Linked DNA regions of Homo sapiens: regions 1, 2, 3, 5, 6 and 7 are each linked to region 4. The links are contacts of gene promoters, found by promoter capture Hi-C in blood cells and fetal thymus (Javierre and others, 2016). All regions are on one chromosome and are shown on one strand. The core of a region is centred on a gene start or on the middle of the fragment in contact, and the rest is flanking DNA. Distances in the headings are between cores, read along the strand shown. Region 1 overlaps LINC01004 (long intergenic non-protein coding RNA 1004). Region 2 overlaps SRPK2 (SRSF protein kinase 2). Region 3 overlaps KMT2E (lysine methyltransferase 2E (inactive)). Region 4 holds the start of PMPCB (peptidase, mitochondrial processing subunit beta). Region 5 overlaps KMT2E (lysine methyltransferase 2E (inactive)). Region 6 overlaps LOC101927902 (a long non-coding RNA gene). Region 7 overlaps KMT2E (lysine methyltransferase 2E (inactive)).

Region 1 (3,381 bases), core at 97-2,596, 1.7 Mb before region 4:
TCCACAAAACGGGTCCCTGGTGCCAAAAAGGTTGGGAACCACTGCTCTAAGGTGTCCAGTGTTGGCTGACCCCTCTCCCTACTTATGCACCCATTGGCTTGCCTAACAGCTGATTGATTTCTGTTTAAATAGACACAGTATATTGGGGCAGTTTATTGCATCTTTGGTCATCTCTTTTCCTCTGGGTCCCTAGGACGGAAGACAATATCCTAAGTTGATTCTGTCTAACAAAACATGAGTAAAATGAGGAATTGGTTAGGTAGGTGGCAAACAGCAAAGATTATATGGACTTGTAGCTTGCTCCATAAGTAGACTTTAACCAAGTAAGCTATTTGAAAAACAATCTTAATTTTTTTCAAGTGTTATTTTTAATTCTATAGGAATATTTTCATAAAAATAATGATGTCCATTATGTTAGCAACTAGAATTACAATGGCAAGTTTTAGGAGATGCTTGAAATGTGAGATGTTACATTTAAAACTATAAAGTTATCGACCTAAGTATATGATTGTACCCATGTGGCAGTAAACTTAAAACTTCCAGTTTCAGGTTTTGTTGTTTGTTTGTTTGTTTGTTTTAAAGAGTTGTTAATGGGGGAAAGGAAAGGAATATGTGAGGGAGATTGGCTTGCAAAGCCTAAAATATTTCTTATGTGGCCCTATATAGAAAAAGCTTGTGTATTCTGGACAAGAGCAATTAAAGGAAATAGTTTGGACTTAAAACTTCTAAAAATAAATAGTGCTCAAATTGCACTTGGAAGTCAGAGACCTTGCTGGTCATCAAAGGGTTCAGTTCAGTCAGTAGTTAGAAAAGACAGAAGCCAGCTTAGCCAAGAGTCAGAATACAAATATTCAGAACCGATTAATAGGCAAATAATTATATATACCATGTCCCAGCCAGTAGATGGAATAATATGCCACCATTAAATTTATATTAACATGTAAAAATGTTTGGAGTTTAGGGCTCTTTACCCATATCTTAGTGACATAGGAAGAAAATTAAGATAAATCACAAGCAACTAGAAAATAGACATGTTAACTTTATTTTAGTACATACTCTGGTAGGATTTTTACATAATCTTACGTACTAGTCAGCCTTCTTAGAAGTGTCACATAGTCAATATCCTTAAAGAGAAATGGAAGCTAATCAGGTAAGTAAATTGTGAGCTGAGGCCTACATCATGCTTGCTATTCAAAGAGAATAAAGTAATTGGATAAATGATAATGCCTCCTTGTTGGGAAAACAGTCTTCAAAAATGGCACTAAGTTACAGTTCTAATGCAATAGAGTCACTAATTACTATGAATACTTGTTTTACTTGGCAGATTACTAACAAAGTTAATTGGATACAATAAATGTAAAGATTTTCTTTTAAAACGACAGATTCTTCAGTGAGGTGTAAACATTTTATAGAACAATTATCAAAGCTATATTGGACTTAAATATTGGTCATGAATGTATGCACACCCCATAGGTAGCTGCCCTCCTTGGGCAGCTTTTGACTCCTATGCCAAATTTTAAAATAAAGGCCGTGGCCAGGCGTGGTGGCTCATGCCTGTAATCCCAACACTTCAGGAGTCCAAAGCGGGCGGATCGCGAGGTCAGGAGATCGAGACCGTCCTGGCTAACACGGTGAAACCCTGTCTCTACTAAAAATACAAAAAAAAAAAATTAGCCGGGCGTGGTTGCAGGCGCCTGTAGTTCCAGCTCCTTTGGGAGGCTGAGGCAGGAGAAGGATCTGAACCCGGGAGGCAGACCTTGCAGTGAGCCAAGATCGCGCCACTGCACTCCAGCCTGGGCAAGAGCGAGACTCCATCTCAAAAAAATAAAATAAAGGCCATATGTTTAATCACATTCCCCAAAAGGAGAACTTCATAAGGCACTAATGAGTAATGTTTATTTTACGAATGATTTTACGGGAAAAATTACAGAGGATGTTTAAATTGCAAAAATACTCCTCCCCTTTTTTCTCCTCCACCGCCCCCCAAAAAAAATCCTTTGCAGTTATCACCTAAGCTTTTTGGGTGTGTGATTTAAAAAAAAAAAAAAAAAACCACAAGACCTACCTTAACAATTTAAGTATGCAGTATTGTTTCTTCTCAGCTGCCCAGTCTTTGTAATTCTTATTTCTTATGCAGAACAATTTAGCATTTGACCCTACTATCACCAAAAAAAAAAAAAAAAGAAAAAAATATATAGCAGTTGAGGGCAGTATACAAGCTTAGTAAGTATATTCTGGTACTTGCTTAGGAAGTAGGAAATGTGATCAGATTCTGTTCTCTACCATATGACACTGATTTGCAAGGCCCCGGGTACAGGACTACTGGTAAAAAGAACCCTGTAACTTCCTGTCACAGAGGGACACAGCAATATATATAAAACAGCATCTGCCGTAAATCTTTGGGGAACGTCTTACTAGATTTAACCAGCTAATTTTACTAGGTATTTAGGAAAGTGTGACTGCAGTTCAGGGTCTTTGTTTTTTCTTTTAAGACAGGGTCTGGCTTTGTTGCTCAGGCTGGAGTGCAGTGGCATGATCAAGGCTCATTGCAGCCTCAGCATCCCTGGGCTGCAGCGATTCTTCCACCTCGGCCACCCAAAACTGGGATTATGGGTGTGAGCCACCACACCTGGCCTCTTATATCTTGATTAAGGTCCTGTCTGGGCCTACAAAGGTTCAATTTGCTTAACCCCAGCACTTTCCCTCAACATGGAGGTCCTTAGTCAACATTAACCAAGGTAATAAAGAGTTGAAAGTTTTAATCATAAGTAGGTGGAGGAGCATTTAAACTGGTTTAATAAACTTGAAATATGAATACCTTAAATATTCGAATAACAAAGCACTGGTGAAACAGGTTTTTCTATGGAAAGACCACAATTTTCTATCCAGCACATTTCATTTGACTGGGTTCCTTTGTTTCTGTAATAAATAGGACTTTGAGAATTCCAAATCAAATTTGCACTTTTGCACAAAAGGTTCACTTGGTGACTCTCATGCCTCCATAAGTGTGTTCCATCTGATTCTGCACAACCTACTGCCTTCAGGGTATCCTGGGACCAGCCAAAGAGATGATTCCAACCAGTGGAATCATCATTAAACTAGTGGTTCTTAAAATATGGACACTGAGTCAACCTGCATCAGAATTACTGTAGATTCTGGACAAATGTACGAAGTCAACATCAAATCAGTGCTACATTTTGAAAAGGTAACTGTAATAAAAAGATTTTTTTGAGATACTGAAATTGCAGTGAAGACAATGTTCCCACCTTTTTAAAATGGTGTAATATTAGGTTCATTTATGGAATGTTTTATGAAGCAGATTTGTATTTTAACAAGCCTTTTAGGAATGCAGATATTATAGGGGATAACATGAATGGTGGT
Region 2 (3,352 bases), core at 219-2,718, 1.8 Mb before region 4:
TTAGTGTCTGAGCTGAACTTGTCACAGTGTTTTAAAATTATCTCCTGAATACCTAAAAAGCAACAGATTCTTTTGATGCTGTAAAGAGCAAAGAAAGCTCTTTCGTGGGCATTTGACAGCTACACAGGCTGGGCGTTGTCACTGCCACTCCTCTTGTTTATCCCTCCATCAGATGATGGGCGTTTGGTTTTCCCCCACTTTTTGGCTATTATGAATGATGCTACTATGATCATTAATGTACAAGTTTGTGTGGGCAGATGTTTCCGTTTCTCTTGAATACACATGTGAAAGTTTAAGTATAAATTTTTAAATTTTGATGAAGTCCAATTTATATACATTTTACAATTTGTGCTTTTGATGTCACATCTAATAAATCATTGCCTACTTCAAGGTCATGAAGATTTACTTTTCTAGGAATTGTTTAGTTTTAGCTCTGAGGCATATGACCTATTTTGAGTTGATTTTTGTATGGGATGTGAGGTAGGGTTTATACACATTTTAAACTCCAATATTTACCTACATTTGGTTGTCTACTTGTGTAAGAATTCATTCAGATCTCTTCATTGTCTCTTGCTTTGTATTGGTATTTCTTGGTAGGTTTACTTTCTACGTGTACACAATTGATGCTCATCAGTTTTATATCATGGTTTGCTTTGTAATTACCAGTGTTCATGTAAATATAGTCCAGGATTTGCCTTTAGAGTCCTCCCACATGTAGTGTGGAACCTCATGGGCTTCTTTATTTAATTCTGGAATATGACAATTTCATGGATAAAATAATGTATTTTCCTTCACAAACCACTTTAAGATTCAAGAGAAGTATAATAGAACTTCCCTGTTTCCTTAGAAGGACTCTGCAAGTCCAGGACTGGCCAGTACAGTTGCTGTCACAAAGCCTTTACTCTGCAGGAGGAACCCTTCCTCAGAGCCTGCTTCCTGTTGGTTTTCCTTGGCTCTTTCAAGCTGTTTCTCAGAGCAAATTCAGAAGCCTAAGGGGCTCTTGGGGACCACACAATTGGCTGCCAGGCTCATGTTTGCTTGTGTGTGTGTGAGTTGATACTGAGATTGACAGCTGATAGTCACAGGAAGGGTGAAGTGATATTCCACATTCTTTAAGGAGGACAGGCTAGAAATGGAACTTTAAGAAACTAAAATTGTCACAGTTGTCTAGTTATTTGCAAAACTTGTTTCAGTGAAACACATCTTCATATATTTTCTTTTCTCTCTTTTTTTTTTTACGTCTTCATATATTTTCTTTTTTCCTTTTTTTGAGACAGAGTCTCACTCTGTTGCCTAGGCTGGAGTGTAGTGATGCTATCTTGGCTCATTGCAACCTCTGCCTCCTGGGTTCAAACGATTTTTGTGCCTCAGCCTCCCAAGTAGCTGGGATTACAGGTGTGCACCACCACGCCTGGCCAATTTTGTATTTATTAGAGATCGGGTTTCACCATGTTGGCCAGGTTGGTCTCGAACTCCTGACCTCAGGTGATCTTCCTGCCTTGGCCTCCCAGAGTGCTGGAATTACAGTCATGAGCCACCGTGCCCGGCCGATGACATTTCTTTAACTTGTTAGGGTGCTACTTTTATAGTAAGAGCAAATGGTGAAAATGTGTTTTTAAAATATGCTTTCCCCTCTTATTCTTAATTATCATTCTAAGTGATGGAGGTGGCTACATTTCTTGGGCATCATCTGCAGGGCTGGAGCTGGCTCATGGACTCGAGACCCTCACTCATTCAGTGAGCCCACTCTTGTTGTGTCTCCTAGCAATAGATACAGAGTTGGGGGCTTGGGCTTTGTGTTTAAGTAACCTTATCAACTATTTCCAGGGCAAGGTTACTTCTTATACTGAGCTTAAGGGTTTGCACACATAATCATTATAGCATCTGGGTGAGTTGATTTTCCTTTGCATTATATTATAAACTTTTTCCACAAAAAAAGTCCACACATTTTTTTTTTTTTTAGAGGCGGTTCAGTGTTTTGTTATATTGCAGTGCTGCTCTGTGCTCAGGACCATAGGTGTTTAGGACTCTCCTGCATATACTGTTGTTTATAGACTGCTTCTTTGCACAGTCTTTACCTTGTTAAAAGTAGTTAGATATTTTACTGCTCCTTGCGAATATTTTTACCAGTTTATAGTATGCCTAGTTATGGATGAATAGTTTCTCATGGCCTTTCACTATTATATTGTTTTGCTCACTGTTACTATGCAGCTGTTAAGCATTTATAGTGGTAAAACTTCTCTTTTCATGGAAGATTGTACTTAAAAGATGCCTTGTTGATGGATCTTAGTTTAACACCTGGCGCCTCAGAAATAGGTTCCTTTACTATTCTCAGCACACAGTGCTTCTCTGTAGTTACCTATATTTGCAAACCTGGAGAGTATTTTTTCTGAGATAGAATAGATTCATGTCATAAAAGTTCGCTCCCTTTCCCAGAGAACTTGGTTTAGTCACATGTGAGCTTTCTTAGTTTGCTTTAACTGTTGCTGTGGTGAGATCAACAGTCTAAATCAATATAGTCATATTACAGAAAATGTGGAAATTGAAATAACCTACTAACAAAAGCTGATGTTTTGATTCAGTTGATTTCCATCTTAATGAGCATTTTAATAATCTTGTGATTATCTGTAGGACATAGTTTGACTGTTCTTTTACTGCCTAATGTTGTACCATGATCTTCTCCCATGTTGTTAAGTAATATTAAATACTATTAAGTGAATCTACCTTGGTTTTCTTTTAACCACCATTTTACTATTACTGGCTCTTCGTAATTTTGCGAGTACATATAATTTTGTGCCAGCATATATTAGGCATGAATTTGGGGTGGTGCAACCAGGGTTTATCTCCTTGGGCTGGATTCCTAGAGCCGGAATTTCAGGCTTAGAGGGATAAACCTGCAGTCTCTGTTCAGACTTTGTTTTTATGGAGACTGTGTTTCCTTCAACAGGAGATCCTTTCCCGCCTCTAATATTACAGGTTCATTTCTTCATCAACACAGACCTGATGTCTAGTCTGGATGCGATGCTTTACTCTAGCTCCAGTCCTCATATTGGAAACAGAAGCTTATTTTACATCTCAGCCCCTTTAGCAAGCAGCCCTCTTAAAAGATTCTTTATACGGAACCCTGTGCACAGCATGATTGCAACTTTGTAGACATACTAGTGTGTAAGAACACTCTTCACAATAGACACAAAAGAAGAGCAGTTGTGGGTAGGATTGTAGGCTACTTCCCCTTTTGTTCTTATACTTTTCTGTAATGCTCTTTCCTTTTCATTGTGTTTTTAAACGGGAGGGCTTTTCCAAGTTGACTCGAATAAATGGGTGAAACAGAACAAGCCTCCTGAGAACACCT
Region 3 (3,189 bases), core at 316-2,815, 1.8 Mb before region 4:
TGCAGACACAAATGTCCTATTCTGGGGGGGGAAAGTCATAAAAAGACATTTATTAGTAAGGAAGAGAAGGAAGCACCAGGATTTAAGGCAGGAAGGGACAGATTAACTCTACTGTTTTGTGCAAATGCATTTGGGTTTATGATCAGGACTGCCCTTATCTATAAAGCTGCTAAACCCAAGCCTTGAAGGGAAAACAAACGGAAGCTGCCAGTCTTTTGGTTGTATAACAAGAAAACCTGGAGGAGAACCCTTTTTCTGGATTGGTACCATTGATGCTTTGTCCCTCAAGTCAGACAACAGGTAGCTAGGAAGGGATTGCCTTTTAAATGTCTTTTGATACTGGGCAATGCCCCTGGCCACCCAGAACCCTATGAGTTCAACACTGAGGGCATCAAAGTGTCTCTAATTCAGCCTCTAAATCAAGGAGTGATAATGGCCTTTAAGGCTCATTACACACAGTACTCTATGGAAAAGAATGTCAACACTATGGAACAGAACCCTGAAAGAGAAGATCATGAAAGTCTGGAAGGATTATACCATCGAAGATGCCATCATTATAGAAAAAGCTGTGAAAGCCATCATGCCCAAAACAATAAATTCCTGCTGGAGTGAACTGTGTCCAGATGTTGTGCATGACTTCACAGGATTTACATCAGAGCCAATCAGAAAAATCATGAAAGAGATCATGGATATAACAAAAAAAGGTGGGGATGAAGGAAGAATACAGATATGGATCTCAGAGAAATTCAAGAGCTAATAGACACCACACCAGAGAAATTAACAGAAGATGCCTAATGGAGATGATTGCTTCCAAACCAGTGCCAGATGATGAGAAAGAAGATGTAGAAAAAGCAGTGCCAAAAAACAAATTTACATTAGACAATCTGGCAGAAGGGCTCCATTGTTTTCAAGACTGATTTTTTACTTTTTTATGATATGGACTCTTCTATGATATGGGCACTGAAGCTAAAGCAAATGACGGAAGACTGGCACCATATAGAAACATTTTTAGAGAAATGAGAAAGCAAAAAAGCCAGGCAGAAATTACTAATATGTTTTCATAAAGTTACACCATATGTGCTTCCCTCTCCTGCCTCCCCTTCTACTACCCCTTCTCCCTCTGTCACCCCTGAGACAGCAAGAGCAACCCCCACCCTTCCTCCTCAGCCTACTCAACATGAAGATGAGGATGAAGACCTTTACGATAATCCACTTCCACTTAATGAACAGTAAATATATTGTATCTTCCTTATGATTTTCTTAAAAACATTTTCTTTTCTCCAGCTTACTTTATTGTAAGAATACAGTATAAGACATACAGAATATGTGTTAATTGTCATTGGTAACACTTCCAGTCAACCGTAGGCTATTAGTAAAGTTTCTGGGGAGTCAAAATGTATACGCAGATTGTGGACTGTGCAGGCAGTTGGTGCTCCAACCCCGCATTGTGCAAGGGCCAACTGTACTGAGATTTATCATTAGTTTTTTACTAGTATTTCAGAAAAATAGTTCTTAGAGTTTCTTTGTAGGATCTCCAACAAACCCTTTTAATTTATACTGCAAAGAAAATTTTCTTTTGTTTTGAGGGGCAAAAGACAAATTATTCATTCATACTGATTAACCAAATAAACTGTATGACTAAAATTATATCCCCTAGAAGAAGAAAAAAATTCTCACATAAACAAGGTCAGTGTTGTATGGCTGAATTAGGGTTACTTGTTATAATTACTGTGAACATTTACATTACAATAATAATTAAGGAAAATGTAGAAATGAAAAGTAGCAATGCTGTAATAGAGGCTGATACTAAACTTCTGGTTTTCAAGTACTTTTAACTGATTCATGATAGATAAAAATAAAAAGCTATAAAAGTAATGACAATACCTAAATTATTACAGGGACATTATGGAACTATTTTCAAACAACAGATTACATTTATAGACTTGAACTCACCAATTTCCATAGTCAAAATCAAAGGCAATAGTAATTTCAGTTCCCTTTGGAATACTGTGTATAGAATAAATATAAAGATGTATGGTTCCATCTTGAATTTCATGCCTCACCTAAAAGTTAAAATAATTGTACATTACCATAAATTACTTTCTGCCTTCAGAAGCATCAGCTTACAATTTTGAAAATTATTCTTTTCAAATTATTTCACAAACACAACCTGGAAAATATGTCATTAATGACAAGGCTTATAACTATCTATTGGTGGTTATCAACTGGGAAGGTTTTTCAATCATATACTGCTATCCACTGCCACCCCAACCCCTAGAGCCCACAATGTGGCATCAAAATAATAATAATAATAATAATAATAATAAAAATACTATATTTCATCAATTCTTCTTATTTTTATTTTTTTGAGACGAGTCTCACACTTTCGCCCAGGCTGGAGTGCAGTGGTGCGATCTCGGCTCACTGCAAGCTCCGCCTCCCAGGTTCACGCCATTCTCCTGCCTCAGCCTCCCGAGTAGCTGGAACTACAGGCACCTGCCACCATGCCCGGCTTATTTTTTTTTGTATTTTTAGTAGAGACGAGTTTTCACAGTGTTAGCCAGGATGGTCTCAATCTCCTGACCTCATGATGTGCCGGCCTCGGCCTCCCCAAGTGCTGGGATTACAGGCGTGAGCCACCGCACCCAGCCTCATCAATTCTTTTTTTTCACCTTTTAGCATCTCTGAAATCAGGAGTCTTATAACTGGTGGCATCTTAGGGTTTTTTGTTGTTGCTGTTGTTGTTTTGAGACAGAGTCTCACTCTGCCATCCAGGCTGGAGTGCAATGATGCAATCTTGGCTCACTGCAACCCCAACCTCTCAGATTCAAGTGATTCTCCTGTCTCAGCCTCCCAAGTAGCTGGGACTACAGGTGCGTGCCACCACACCTGGCTAATTTTTAGTAGGGATGGGGTTTCACCATGTTGGTCAGGCTGGTCTTGAACTCCTGACCTCAGGTGATCCACCCACTTTGGCCTCCCAAAGTGCTGGGATTACAGGTGTGAGCCACTGTGCCTGGCCTTCTTAGGTTTGATGAGTGCAATAATGGTTGAGCAAACGCTACTTTTCTATGACAAGACACTATTCTATATACTTTATATGTATTAACTCCTTCAGTCTTCATATCACCTTTTTACAGATAAAACTGAGGTTAAAAAGCTAGTAAGTCACAGAGAAGAAATAAATTT
Region 4 (3,263 bases), core at 453-2,952:
CCTGGCTCTGTCATGTATTAGCTGAGTTACCTGAACAAAACCATTTAACTTCTCTCACTTCCTTAACTATAAAACAGGTGTGAGGATGCCCACTACAAACAATTGCTTTTTATCAAATAAGACATCAGTAAAAACACTTGGCAGAGTAGCCCTGCAAACATATTTCTTTCATTATTATCAATACTACTGAAAATAAATAATCAATAATAAGCTACAAGAACAAGATGCAGACAATGCAACAGGATACATATGCACCCTGTAACTAAGTACCACTGGAAGAAAAGGTTCACAACTCATGGAAATCTGTCAAGGCAAAATAACTGTCACCCTTTTTGAACCACCAGCCAACGAAAAAGCTAAAGATTAAAATCAACAATTTGCTACGCTAAATGAAGGGTCACTTAGAGAAGGTTGCCTGAGTCACTTACTGTGCATGTTGAGAGCCCAGAGTCTTCCGAAGCTACTCTGAGTCCACTTTCTAAACATGTTACTCTTGTTTCAGGAACATTCAGAACAACTTGGGTAGCAGCCTGTGTACTTCTTAATCTGTTCTCTCCAAAATATAATGACTGGTTGGGGGTAGGAAGTGGAAGAGACAAAGCAAAACACATTACTAATCTGATATTAAATGTTGCTTTTAAAACCAAATCTATTTTAAATAGGCTGTCTCTATAAAAGAATCTTTCTTCTTGAATTTTGGTTCCACTGAGATCTCTGCCTGGCCTAGAAACATCTGTCACCAGCCACTGTCCTAAAGCCAGCAACGTGTTTATAAACATGCCCTTCCCTCAGGGAAGATGAGCAATTATTATCATTACCCAGAGAGAAATTGACTTTATTTCACTACCTCTCCTAGAAATGTTTTATATTCATTATGGAGAAAACAAGCAGGAAAAAAAAAAAGAGAGGGAAACTATGTAAAACTACCTACACACAAGACAAAACTGACACTCGGGTTTTCATTGTTCAAGAAAAGCAACAGGGTTTGGAAATGGTTAAAAAAAAAAAGAGAGAGAGGATAGGAAGATGGGTCGATGTTCAAAATGCAAATGACTGGCTTTTCGGCCAGAAACTATTCGCCTTTCAGCAGTTTTTCTTTGCCCTTATACAAAAGTCTCACATCCCTTTGCTTAAAGTCAGAGGCTCTCTCATGAGAAAAATGCAAATACATAAAAAATTTTACTTCATTGATGTCCAGGTTCGCGGGAAGCCCAGCTGAGGACGAAGTTCAGTCTTAGGCAAAAATAGAACTCTGGAGCGGTACCCATTTCACTTTTTAGTTTTCCCCAATTTGCAAGCACTACGTTTTTAGTGGTCAAACATGCACTCCTCAGTAGCTGGCGGGAGGAGCCGAAAACCAGGGTCATCCCACACGTCACTAGCAGGTCTCCTGGCGGGTGGCCACAAGCCAGTCACCCCCGGCCAGTTCAGCAGCCCCAGGCCGCCTGGCGCCCGGCGGGTCCGGGTCGAGGAGGCCCTGCCCGACCCACTGTTCGGATCTGTGGCGCCGACTCTCAGGTGCGCTGCGCCGGGTCTGGCGAGATCTCGAGGACAGGACCGGCCTGGAGGGAAGCTCACCCGTCCCGCAGCGCCTCGGATTAGAAGACTCTCGCTGAAACCCCAGAGCCGCCGCCGCGCCGCGGATGACAACACCACTCGAGCCGCCGCAGCCGCCATTTCTGCTAGAAGGAAGGTAGAGGATGAAGGATGTGCTTCCGGGGTCGCGACCTGAGGTCCCAGAGCAGGGAGGTGGGCTCCACCTTGTGGCCGTGATGGGAATGACACTCCTCGAAGCGGTTGTGAAAGCAATCAGGGCCCGACCATGATGCTGAGCGGTCTTTACCAAATGAATTGGGGAGTCTGCAGAAGCCCCTTTATCATCAGTTATTTTATCGATCGCCTACTAAGTGCAAGGCACAAATGCGGTGGAATGAAAGGTAACCTGATGCAATATATCTCACTGGTGGATGGAATTGATTGAAAACAGTGGAATAATATTCATAAGTCACTGCCTTTAAAGGAAAAGTCTAGTGGGAGAGACAGATGCCGTGAGGGGAGGAAACGATGTATCCGTGTTGACCACTATCCACTCTTCGAACCTCTACAATATGGCTCATCTCATTCCATAGAAATTGCCCTTGGTAAGGTCACTAATTGCTAAAAGTTGGACACTTTACAGACTTATGTTACAGTCCTGTTGGAGGATTTGACATTGTTGGCTTCTTTGAAATTCTCTTTTCTCAATATATTCTAGAGCTCCACCTCCTCATAGTTCCCTCTGCACCTTCTTGGACTCCTCTTTATTCACAGATCTGTTTTTTGTTTTTGTTTTTGTTTTTGAGATGGAGTTTCACTCTTGTTGCCCAGGCTGGAGTGCAGTGGTGCAATCTCAGCTCACTGCAACCTCTGCCTCCTGGGTTCAAGCAATTCTCCTGCCTCAGCCTCCCAGGTAGCTGGGATTACAGGCATGTGCCACCACGCCTGGCTACTTTGTATTTTTAGTAGAGATGGGGTTTCACCATATTGGTCAGGCTGGTTTTGAACTCCTAACCTCAGGTAATCCACCCACCTCCACCTCCCAAAGTGCTAGGATTACAGGCGTGAGCCACTGCGCCCAGCCCACAGATCTCTCAAGGAACTAAAAATTGCAAATGCTTTTCTAACTCAGGTAGATGGTATAGTGCTTATTTTGCAATTAAGACACTGAAGTCAAATAACTTGCCCCAGGTTACCCTGCTAGTAATAGGTTAACGCCAAAGACTGTGCTGTGAAACACTACATTTTGCCCTAAAAGTTGGTGTTTGCCAGGACTCTAAGCCTCTTCTACTGAACATTCTCCCTCTGGGTTTTTCCCTCCACTTCAAGACCTGTCTGCCCAACCCAGGCCTTTCTCTTGAGCTCCAGCCCACTTAACCATCAACTACTAGGAAACTACACTTGAATACCCCATTGGAAACTCAATATCAACTTGTCCAAAAGGGAATTCACTGTGTCCCCTGAATCTCTTCCCATATTTGCAATGCCAAACAGCCAATCATACCTACATTTGCCCAAAACTCCAAACCACCCAGAAGCTCCTCTCTTTTTCCATCTTCCACATTCAATTGATACACCCCTTTCCTGCCTCTTCAATCTACTCCAGGCCCATTGTCAGTTTTTTCACATTACTACCTATAGGATCTTTTACAAATGAAACTGTTACGGCAGTCCCATTATGAAGAATCCATCAGGGAGCCCTTGGTCACAATAAAGTAAAGGGTCCT
Region 5 (3,364 bases), core at 76-2,575, 1.8 Mb before region 4:
AAATGTTTGTGATAAATGTAAAAAATAATTGCTATGATACTATCAGCAAACTACTTCTATTATTGGTGGATATGGGGAGAAAAAACATTTCTGTTCATTGAAGACCTTTCAGAATTCCCATCATCTTGGTAAGCCCTGTTATTGCAAATATTTCATGAAGGAAACACTTGGATGACTGAGTGTTAATGATAAGGGTAAAACAAAACAAAAAAGCCTCAAAAATTACCTTGTTTTACCAAACCGAAAATCTTTTCTCTTAATAATACAGAAATCAGCCTTTTAAAAAAAGATCCAAAATCCCTAAGGTAATGATATGTTGAAAAGGTAAAATTCATATGCACTTGAGTGAGTATATTATTGGCATACTGCAGCAGGATGTTGTGAGGTAAAGTCTTGCATTTAAAAATTATGATTCTCATTTGGTAAGTATCTCTGTGACTCCAGGCAAGTTAACCTTTCTGAGACAGTAAGATGTGGGTAATAAAATCCTTTCCAAAGCTTGTTCTCTTCTCTCTTTTCAAGTCTGGCAAGAAGTTCATTTATGATGAACTTCTCTGAGTTGTTATTTGGTTCCAACAGAAAATACGAGGTTTTCAAACAGTAGTTGGAAAATGGTGGGCGTTCTGTATGTTAATTATTATTTCTACTTTAGTCCTCTTGCCCTCCATTGTAATTCTTATAAAGTATTCCTCTACCTTCTGCTCTTCCTGTCTTCACTGACAATTCAAGACAGGGACTGAGAAACAGCCAAGTGTTCCTTTGAGCATCAGTTCTCTATCCAAAGAGAACATTAAGAGTAAGACCCAGAGCCTTGACAGATGCTTCAGCTCTAAACCAGAACCAGGAACCACATCCATCAACTGTCCAGTTCTTAAAATGAAAAGAACCACAGGTCCTGAGGCTCAGATCCATTTGTCTTTCCTCCTTTATTACACATCGATGTGAGGAAGAAAGATCAGAAACTCAAGGTCTGGATGCCACAGTCTTCTCAATATTGGAGCTTTAGTTCCAGTAATTACCAGCAGAGATTCAAGCCTCAAGATACCTACACTTTGGAAACTACTGTTTACCTGTTCCTGTATTTTTGTTGTTGTTGTTACACTCAGCAAGGGAACAAAATACTATGTCAACAAAAGTACTCTAATAATACTTCTAAGTTTCTAATTTGTTACAGCAAATTTCCATATTGCAAACATGACTCTGAGGAAACTGAGGTCCAAAGAGGTAAGGTTCTTTGTTCATGGATTACGTATCTGTATCTCACTTCTCCTAGTCTGGGACGGGCAAACACTACAATAGCACATGCAAAAGATGGTTCTACTTGTTCACTGGCACTGAAAGTTTTACAGCTGAGTTCTTTCCTTACAAAATTCCTTATTTTTGGGCTTTTAAATTACCTTTACCCCTTTTTGTCTTGTGGTTCTCTGTAAAACTGTTTTTATCAGGGCTTCTCTAAAACCCTGAATGTAGAAGAGGAGAAATTTGGAGTAACTAAAAAGATCATTTTCCCAAACTGCGCTTTACCTGATGAACCTGGTTGGAGAGGAGGGATTAATTACTATGGTTATTTCTTTTCAAAAAATTTAAAATAAAAAATTTGGGGAAAGTACATTTTTCCAGAAGAAACAAACTTGTCTTGGCAAAAATCATTGTATGTGTAAAATAAAAAACTACCCACAGGTGGGCACCCAAGGAAGATATTTTTTGTAGTATGATTATCCTGGGTGTTGTAAGGTAAATATGAATTTATGCCAACAGAGTCTGACATAGTCCAATATTTTCTTGTTTGGGATACAAGAAATATTTTCTTGTTTTGGTCAGAGATAAAACTATATGATATAAACATTCAATTAAAAAATCAAACTCCCCTGTAAACACTACAGCTAATTTATAGTCAGAGCAAAATCCTGTATTTAGAGATGGTTCATAATCTTCTAGAGTTGATCAGGATCTTAAAAAATAATGTGGTCCAATACTGCTGAAGAAACCAAAGCCCATGTGTATTAAGTGACTCATTCAAAAGCAGAGCCATAATTACTATGCAGGTTATGCAGGTTTCCTGGTTTCTGTATTACTCTTCTTTCCAATTACTGCCGCTACATAAAGCAAAACTCTTCCTACATTACTACAGCTGGGTAAGAATAAAGCTTAAGCACTAAACATTTCCTAACAGCTTTAGACCTAGCTTTATCTTAAAATACACAAATATTTTGGAACATAAACGTGCCTGATTTTCTACATTTATTTTTAATTTCTTAAAGGTCATACATCATTCAGCTTTTCTAGTCACCATTACATACAGTACATTCTTTGACACAGCCATGTATATGGTACCTATTTAAAGACAAAATTTGCCTCCCATTTTATAGCTCTAACTGAAAAATAAGTTTTATTCTTTGAGGTAGTTAGAGCTGACTCTGGAGATAGAGAAATTAGGATTCCTAATTAACCCCTGCAGACTTTCCATAGCCCCTAACACCTGTGCTATATAATCTAAACTCGATAGATTTCCCATGAAATCTATACATTGTTTTTATGACATATGTCTTAGTTTATGGTTTTCCAAGAGTAAATACCAAGCATTGTAATTTCCTATAAGCAGTCTGCTTAATAATATCCCCATCACAAAGCAAGACTCCCATCTCCACAAAAAAATTTAGGCTGGGCGCAGTGGTTTATTATGCCTGTAATCCCAGCACTTTGGGAGGCCGAGGAGGGTGGATCATGAGGTCAAGAGATCAAGACCATCCTGGCCAACATGGTGAAACCCTGTCTTTACTAAAAAAACAAAAATTAGCCAGGTGTGGCACGCGCCTGTAGTCCCAGCTACTCAGGAGGTTGAGGCAGGAGAATCACTTAAACCAGGGAGGTGGAGGTTGCAGTAAGCTGAGATTGCGCCACTGCACTCCAGCCAGGTGACAAAGCAAGACTCTGTCTCAGGAAACAAACAAAAAAATTAGTGGAACATGGTAGCATGCACCTGTAGTTCTGGCTACTCCAGACACTGAGGCAGGAGGATTGCTTGAGTCCAGGAGTTGGAGGCTGCAGTAAGCTATTGGTCATACCACTGCACTCCAGTTTGGGCAACAGAGCGAGGCCCTGTCTTTATCTAAAAAAAAAAAAAAAAATAGGAAAAGGAAAGCCAGAGCCCACCTACAAAATCACCCTATTCTTCTTTGGTCTTGAAATAGAGAAATTAAATGATTCCTTGCTCAAAAAAACTTGTTACCCTTTTATATAACAAAGATAAACTTATAAATCTAAAAAGATGGGTAAGATTATTTGTTACTAATAAAAATCATTCCAAAATAACACGTATGGCTTGTGTGGTGTCTCCATTTCCTCTATCATGTGATGATGGAAT
Region 6 (3,289 bases), core at 638-3,137, 1.7 Mb before region 4:
GGCAAGATTTTGCAAGTACTCAAGCTTCTCTCTTCCAGATATTAAAGGCATAGCAAAGGGGTTATATTATTACTACTGAATGCTAGAATACTATTTTTAAAACATTGATTTTGATTTTTTTCTTCTAGATTTTTTTTCTTCTATTCCATCTCCCCATTTGAACAGACAAACCATTCTTTGCTCCTATCTAAGAGATGGGTCTTACAAGCAGAAAGCAAAGTTTTTCAGTTTCAAAAGCCTGGGCCGGTGGTTCTCAAAGTATGGTCTCCAGACCACATCAGCATCACCTGGATACTCGTTAGAAAGGGAAATTCTTGGGCCCTACCCCAGACCTACTGAATCAGCACCTCTGGGGGTTGGGCTCCACGTTCTGTGTTTTAACAGGCCCTCCAGGTGACTCAGATGTAGGCTGCAGATTGAAAACCACTGGTCTAGATCCTTAGTGAACTGGAGAGAACAAACTGGTAAAAGATTTAGGAGAAAACATCAGGAATAACAGCAAAGCTCCTTACCTAAGTTAGAAAAATATTCTCTAGGCTGAGGGAGGAGGGGAGATAGAAGGGAAGTGATAAGACAGAGAGGTGGTGGGGACAGGAGGAGAGGGCTAGAAGTGAGTGCCAGCCTACATTTTAGTAAGCCCCTTTGCCTATGCCAGACCATTGGGTTAGTTGCCTTCTGGTAGGTGTCTAGTGAGGACTTATGCCTGACAGCAAGCAACAACCAGGACATTGTTTATTGGCTAACAGTCAGAGCAAAATGTTGGGTTTGTGTCCTCCCTATTCCATATGGACAGTCCTTCCTTACAACATCCTGGAATGCTCATTAACTCTTGAGAAGGAAGGTGAGGCCCTGGACCCCTAGTGACCTGATGGTTAGGGAAGGGAGAATAAGCCCTGCACTTGATTTTGGTGGGGATGAACAGAACCAACACAAGATTACCCCTGAGCCAGGGCAAGATAACACTCACCCCAATTATAATGACTACTTGTGTTGGAAATTGGCACTCAGCATTTATTCCAGTCTCCTCCTGGGTTGCCTTTCTGTAACAGTTGAAAGCTTAGAGAGGCTAGAAAGTTTAACTCTGCATTTCCCAGACTCCCTTCAAGTTGTGGATGTGCAGCTCACCATTGCGTTGCAGAAGGCAGAAGGAAGGCAGAGGCTCTTGGCCATCTTTTCTTGGCTTGCTTGGTCAAGCTTCATGTTGGTGGCAGCAGTGGTGGCTCTTCATTCCAACTTCCACATTTCTGGAGCGCAGCAACTTCGGCGTGTTCATGAGCTCAACAGCTCCAGTGACAGCCTCCTGACCCCTCAGCCTGCTAATCTGGGCTGAGGTTGTAGCTTCTGGAGGGAGGGAAATGAGGGTCAGTTCTGTGGCATTCAGGTAGACATTCCAGAAGGCCCCAGCCTACATGCTTATTCCTTCAGTACTTTCAACTATTTCATGAGCACCAACTTCCCTGTATTAATTCCTTCTTTGCTAAAAAACCCAGTCTGGAGCCGGGCGCGGTGGCTGACGCCTGTAATCCCTGCAATTTGGTAGGCTGAGGTGGGTGGATCACCTGAAGTTAGGAGTTCGAGACTAGACTGGCCAATATGGCAAAACCCCGTCTCTACTAAATATACAAAAAAAAATTAGCTGGGTGTGGTAGCGGGCGCCTGTAATCCCAGCTACTCAGGAGGCTGAGGCAGAAGAATGGCTTGAACCCAGGAGGCAGAAGTTACAGTGAGCCAAGATCGCGCCATTCCACTACAGCCTGGGTGACAGAGCAAGACTCCGTCTCAAAAAAAATAAATGAATAAAATAAAATGGTTCCTATTTCTTCCACTAAGGATATACTATTCAAAAAAAAAATCTGTCTTGAAATTTAACTGGAGTGACAGGATGGTTGCACAGAAATGCTTATGATTTCAGAAAATTGGGCCATATGCCAAGGAGCAATAGCAGTACATGCAGTCCATGTGTCAGAGGCTCAGAGGTGAGAGCGCTCACCACCCTGGCCTGGGTTAGGTTTTGGGGCAAGGCAGAACTTGAAGGAAATGTCTTCAAAGAGCAAGCAATGTGCTTTCTGGCTAGTTTTCCTGTTTCAGTTGACTTTGGCCTTGCCTTGCTCCCTGCTTCCTCTTTTCTGCCTCCATACCATCTCTTGTGCAACTCTGCTTACAGGGAACTCCCATCCCTGTCTCTTAAGAACCAAGCAAACCCCTTTTTCTTTTCCTCTTTTATCAGCCTGTCTCTTATTTCAGAATACACATTTCTGTATGCTTCAAAGTAGTTTACAGTTTTCAGTAAGCATGACCATGTTGGCGTTACTTATTTCAGAATGTGAGCCCCTGTTGACTGCCAAGCATTATCCCATGACCATGAGGACTCTCAACAATTGCTACATTATTTGTTAGGGGAGCTTCAAGGTCCAGCTTCCACTGTCTGAAGGAGCTTCAAGAAGCTGAATATGGCAATGTCTGCTGTCCCTACCCAAAAAGTATTTGATTAGCTCTGTCCACAAAGAGCAGAAATTTGAGATGACCCCTTCTGGGCCTGGAGAGCCAGCCTGAGACTAAACCTCCCTAGAAGAAGCTTTCTTTTTTTTTGAGACAGAGTCTTGTTCTGTCACCCAGGCTGGAGTGCAGTGGCATGATCTAGGCTCACTGCAAGCTCTGCTTCCCAGGTTCACACCATTCTCCTGCCTCAGCCTCCCAAGTAGCTGGGACTGCCGGCGCCCGCCACCATGCCCTGCTAATTTTTGTATTTTTAGTAGAGATGGGGTTTTGGCATGTTGGCCAGGTTGGTCTTGAACTCCTGACCTCAGGTGATCCGCCTGCCTCGGCCTCCGAAAGTGTTGGGATTACAGGCGTGAGCCACCGCGCCTGGCCGGAAGAAGCATTTTTAAATTTTCATTATTTTATTTATTTATTTTTGGTTTTTTTGAGATGGAGTCTCGCTCTGTCGCCCAGGCTGGAGTACAGTGGCACCATCTTGGCTCACTGCAAGCTCTGCCTCCCGGGTTCACGCCATTCTCCTGCCTCGGCCTCCCGAGTAGCTGGGACTACCGGCACCTGCCACCACACTCAGCTAATTTTTTTGTATTTTTAGTAGAGACGGGGTTTCACCATCTTAGCCAGGATGGTCTCAATCTCCTGACCTCATGATCCGCCTGCCTCGGCCTCCCAAAGTGCTGGAATTACAGGCGTGAGCCACCGTGCCCAGCCTGGAAGACGCATTTTTTACATCAAATCTCAGACAGGGCAGGAGGGAATTGCTCTGGATTATTATTATTATTATTATTATACT
Region 7 (3,118 bases), core at 287-2,786, 1.8 Mb before region 4:
TCCCTCCCTACCAAATCATATCTTCACGTTCCTATGGTCACATACATAGCTCCACCTCCAAGATGAAAGAAGGTATTAAGATGTGAGAATAGAAGTGTTAAAAAAAAAAAAAAGAAAAAGAAAAACACACATCTCAGAAATATGGAGCCTAAAGAATAATAAAACAAGACATATTTATCACTATAAAACATATAATATAGTTTTTTAAATTTAGTAATTTTTATTCTGGTCCAAGTAGTAAGTATCTCATAATTCTACCTCCATAGTATCATAAATGTGTTGTTATGTAATTACGTTTGAATCTAAATGCTGCCTCTTACTAGATATGCAATATTTAATAAGTTAGATAGGCTTTTATTTTCTCACCTATGAAATAAAAGATGAAAACTACATCTCATGAAGTTGTTTTTAATGATTAAATAATATATGTCTGACACATAACAAGGGCTCAATAAATGGTAACTATAAAATTTACTATATAAATTACTATATAATTCAAAAACTAAAAATCAAAAAATTAAAACAAAATTAATTACTATATAATTCAAAATTAATAGTAGGTAGTACAATACAACCTTATCTGCATTCTTTTAGGAAGTAAAGAAATATAATATCAAACTATTAACAGCATAAATTGCAAAATAATAAGAGAAACAGTTCACTTTTATAGAACTTTAATCGCTTAATGGTTAATGAAAAATTAAACGCCTAATTATTTTGATAGTATGAAACAACCATGCTTTTCAAACATGCCGTTTCAAGCACAGTATCACATGCATCTACTTTCAATCTCTAAATTTAAAAATGTTTTTTCAAAGAAGTGTTTAACACTTACCGCATAGGGCAAACCAATGTAACTGTGTGAATGATGTGAGCTGCTGGTATATAACTGGTGGGGATAACTGTTGGATTTCTCAACTACCACAGGGCTAGCTTCTACGGATTCTGGTCTGGGGGGAAAAAGTTGCATCAAAGAGAATTCCATTCTTTTTTTTTCCTCTTAATCAATTTAATTAAAATGATAAAGTACTTACAGCAAAATAATGGCTATACAAATACAGTATCTACTTACAGCAGGTGGATACACTATAGATAAGATATATCCCATCTAGATTATGTGTCATAAGCAAACTTCTGTTTAAGTAAAATAAATGTCCCAATCCAATTTCAAATATAGTTTCCCTCTCTCTCATTAAAAAAAATTACTAGAGTCCAATTATTATTTAATAAACCCTACGGCACTGAGAAAACTAGCAAAGGGGTGCAAAGAAGTAGTAGAAATAATTTAAGCAAGACTAAAACACACAGAATCTATATGGACCTCAAATGGAACTGAAGTATGCATTTCAGTGTTCAAAAATATATGCATGTGTTGAGTGTGACCAGATATTAATATAATAAAGCCTTGGAAATGTCAGTAAACTTAAGTAATAGGAAGTTTCAAAATAAACCAGGATTTATACCTGAAAAAAAACATAAACAGCTATCTGTAAGATGAGCAATTCTGGTCTTAGATGATGGAGACTGATCAACTACTGATACAATTTGCCCACTGTTGTTGACTTACAAGCTCCCTGGCCTAGCATTTTACATACATCACTTTCCCAACTTCTTTACTCTTACCAATCCTCCTGAGCTCTACTTGGTTAATTCCTATTGATCAACAAGGTTGTGAACCTACATCTGAGGTCAGTTCACACTAAAATTAATCTCTCCCTTGCAAATACTCAATAACATGATTTGTTTCTGTGCCTTTATTTTACAAAACTATAACATCACTTGAAAAATTTTTCATGACAATCTTTATCCTACCTCCTATTAAAACTTTACATTAGAACTTAGTACTATTTGCACTATTATTTAGTTTAAGGATATTTAGTGGTTATATTCTGATTAGTCATGAGACTAGCAGCATAAAAAACATTTTTTACAGTCAACTGCTTCTTAATATACTGTCATCCCTTCACGAAGTCTCAATTTAGCTCTCAGTGGCTGCTGTTGTAAGCGCTGTGTGCCAGAATCAGCAAAAAGAGGAGATACAAACTGAGGTTATCTAATGGTTCTAAAGGAGATTGTGAAGAGTCTCCATTATGTTCTGAATATAGTCATGCTTTGCTTAACATTGGAGATACATTCTGAGAAATACATCATTAGGTGATTTCACCGTTGTGTGAACATGATAGAGTGTACTTTACACAAACCTAGATGGTATAGCCTACTATACACCTAGGCTAAATGGCATAACTATTGCTCCTAGGCTACAAATCTATACAGCATGTTATGCGCTGAATATCGTAGGTAACACAATGCACTGAATATTGTAGGTAACACAATGCTAAGTATTCTGTATCTAAACACATCTAAACATAGAAAATAAGGGCTGGGTGTGGTGGCTCATGCCTATGATCTCAACACTTTGGGAGTCTGAGACAGGAGGGTCACTTGAAGCCTGGAGTTCAGGAGTAGCTTGGGTAAGATAGCAAGACTTTCTCTACAGACATTAAAAATAAAAAAAAAAAACTAGCCAAGCGTGTTGGCACACGTCTGTAGTCCTAGCTACTTGGGAGGTTGAGGTGGGAGAGCTGTTTGGGCCTAGAAGTTTGAGGTTACAGTGAGCTATGATCATGTCACTGCACTCTAGCCTGGGCAACAGAATGAGACTCTGTCTCTAAAAAGAGAAAAAAACATGTACAGTAAAAAAACAATAAAAAAGATAAAAAATGGTACACGTGTAGACGGCACCTCCAATATAATCTTATGGGACCACCATTGTATTATGTGGTCTGGTGTTGACTGAAACGTTGTTATGTGTGCATGACTGTACTTTGAAAACCAATATTCACCTGTAATCCCAGCACTTTGGGAGGCAGAGGCGGGTGGATCACAAGGTCAGGAGTTCAAGACCAGCCTGGCCAAGATGGTGAAAACCCATCTCTACTAAAAATACAATAAGTAGGCAGGGGTGATGGCAGGCACCTGTAATCCCAGCTACTTGGGGGCTGAGGCAGGAGAATCACTTGAACCCAGGTGGCAGAGGTTGCAGTGAGCCGAGACTGCGCTACTGCACTCCAGCCTGGGCGACAGAGTTAAGACTCTGTCTCCAAAAAAAAAAAAAAAA

What was found. The method cuts DNA at HindIII sites, captures the fragments that hold promoters and counts their contacts. A CHiCAGO score of 5 or more calls a contact.
Region 1: a fragment that was not itself captured here is called in contact with the fragment with the promoter of PMPCB in region 4 in 4 of 17 cell types (total B cells, activated CD4 T cells, M1 macrophages and 1 more); the score reaches 13.5 in total B cells.
Region 2: a fragment that was not itself captured here is called in contact with the fragment with the promoter of PMPCB in region 4 in 6 of 17 cell types (activated CD4 T cells, total B cells, naive B cells and 3 more); the score reaches 11.0 in activated CD4 T cells.
Region 3: a contact is called between a fragment that was not itself captured here and the fragment with the promoter of PMPCB in region 4, in 6 of 17 cell types (total B cells, M1 macrophages, naive CD8 T cells and 3 more). The highest score is 9.2, in total B cells.
Region 5: a contact is called between a fragment that was not itself captured here and the fragment with the promoter of PMPCB in region 4, in 11 of 17 cell types (total B cells, naive CD4 T cells, total CD4 T cells and 8 more). The highest score is 10.4, in total B cells.
Region 6: a fragment that was not itself captured here is called in contact with the fragment with the promoter of PMPCB in region 4 in 5 of 17 cell types (naive CD8 T cells, total B cells, naive B cells and 2 more); the score reaches 7.7 in naive CD8 T cells.
Region 7: a fragment that was not itself captured here is called in contact with the fragment with the promoter of PMPCB in region 4 in 4 of 17 cell types (total B cells, naive B cells, naive CD8 T cells and 1 more); the score reaches 11.0 in total B cells.

Annotation. Positions count from the first base shown.
Region 1 is chr7:104,985,782-104,989,162 of GRCh38, reverse strand. It overlaps LINC01004 (long intergenic non-protein coding RNA 1004), which reads left to right. Exons shown (of 1, transcript NR_039981.2): 1 at 1-3,381. Among named protein-coding and RNA genes, the nearest start is that of LINC01004, 3.7 kb to the left of the region's middle. RefSeq lists enhancers at 1,156-1,655, 1,656-2,157. The HindIII fragment of the contact is 1,343 bases long and covers 675-2,017 here.
Region 2 is chr7:105,119,263-105,122,614 of GRCh38, reverse strand. The region is part of intron 15 of SRPK2 (SRSF protein kinase 2); the gene reads left to right. Among named protein-coding and RNA genes, the nearest start is that of KMT2E, 110 kb to the right of the region's middle. The HindIII fragment of the contact is 3,192 bases long and covers 1-3,064 here.
Region 3 is chr7:105,080,562-105,083,750 of GRCh38, reverse strand. It overlaps KMT2E (lysine methyltransferase 2E (inactive)), which reads right to left. Exons shown (of 27, transcript NM_182931.3): 13 at 1,954-2,063. Among named protein-coding and RNA genes, the nearest start is that of KMT2E, 68 kb to the right of the region's middle. The HindIII fragment of the contact is 3,696 bases long and covers 1-3,189 here.
Region 4 is chr7:103,295,874-103,299,136 of GRCh38, reverse strand. PMPCB (peptidase, mitochondrial processing subunit beta) reads right to left here and starts at 1,702. Exons shown (of 13, transcript NM_004279.3): 1 at 1,579-1,702; 2 at 429-569. The coding sequence starts at 1,677. RefSeq lists enhancers at 1,448-1,747, 1,848-1,907. The HindIII fragment of the contact is 11,349 bases long and covers 1-3,263 here.
Region 5 is chr7:105,097,999-105,101,362 of GRCh38, reverse strand. The region is part of intron 15 of KMT2E (lysine methyltransferase 2E (inactive)); the gene reads right to left. Among named protein-coding and RNA genes, the nearest start is that of KMT2E, 85 kb to the right of the region's middle. The HindIII fragment of the contact is 1,649 bases long and covers 501-2,149 here.
Region 6 is chr7:104,960,036-104,963,324 of GRCh38, reverse strand. It overlaps LOC101927902 (a long non-coding RNA gene), which reads right to left. Exons shown (of 2, transcript NR_187679.1): 2 at 991-1,341. Among named protein-coding and RNA genes, the nearest start is that of LINC01004, 29 kb to the left of the region's middle. RefSeq lists an enhancer at 1,902-1,971. The HindIII fragment of the contact is 1,381 bases long and covers 1,197-2,577 here.
Region 7 is chr7:105,059,996-105,063,113 of GRCh38, reverse strand. KMT2E (lysine methyltransferase 2E (inactive)) reads right to left here. Exons shown (of 27, transcript NM_182931.3): 4 at 836-950. Among named protein-coding and RNA genes, the nearest start is that of KMT2E, 47 kb to the right of the region's middle. The HindIII fragment of the contact is 6,535 bases long and covers 1-3,118 here.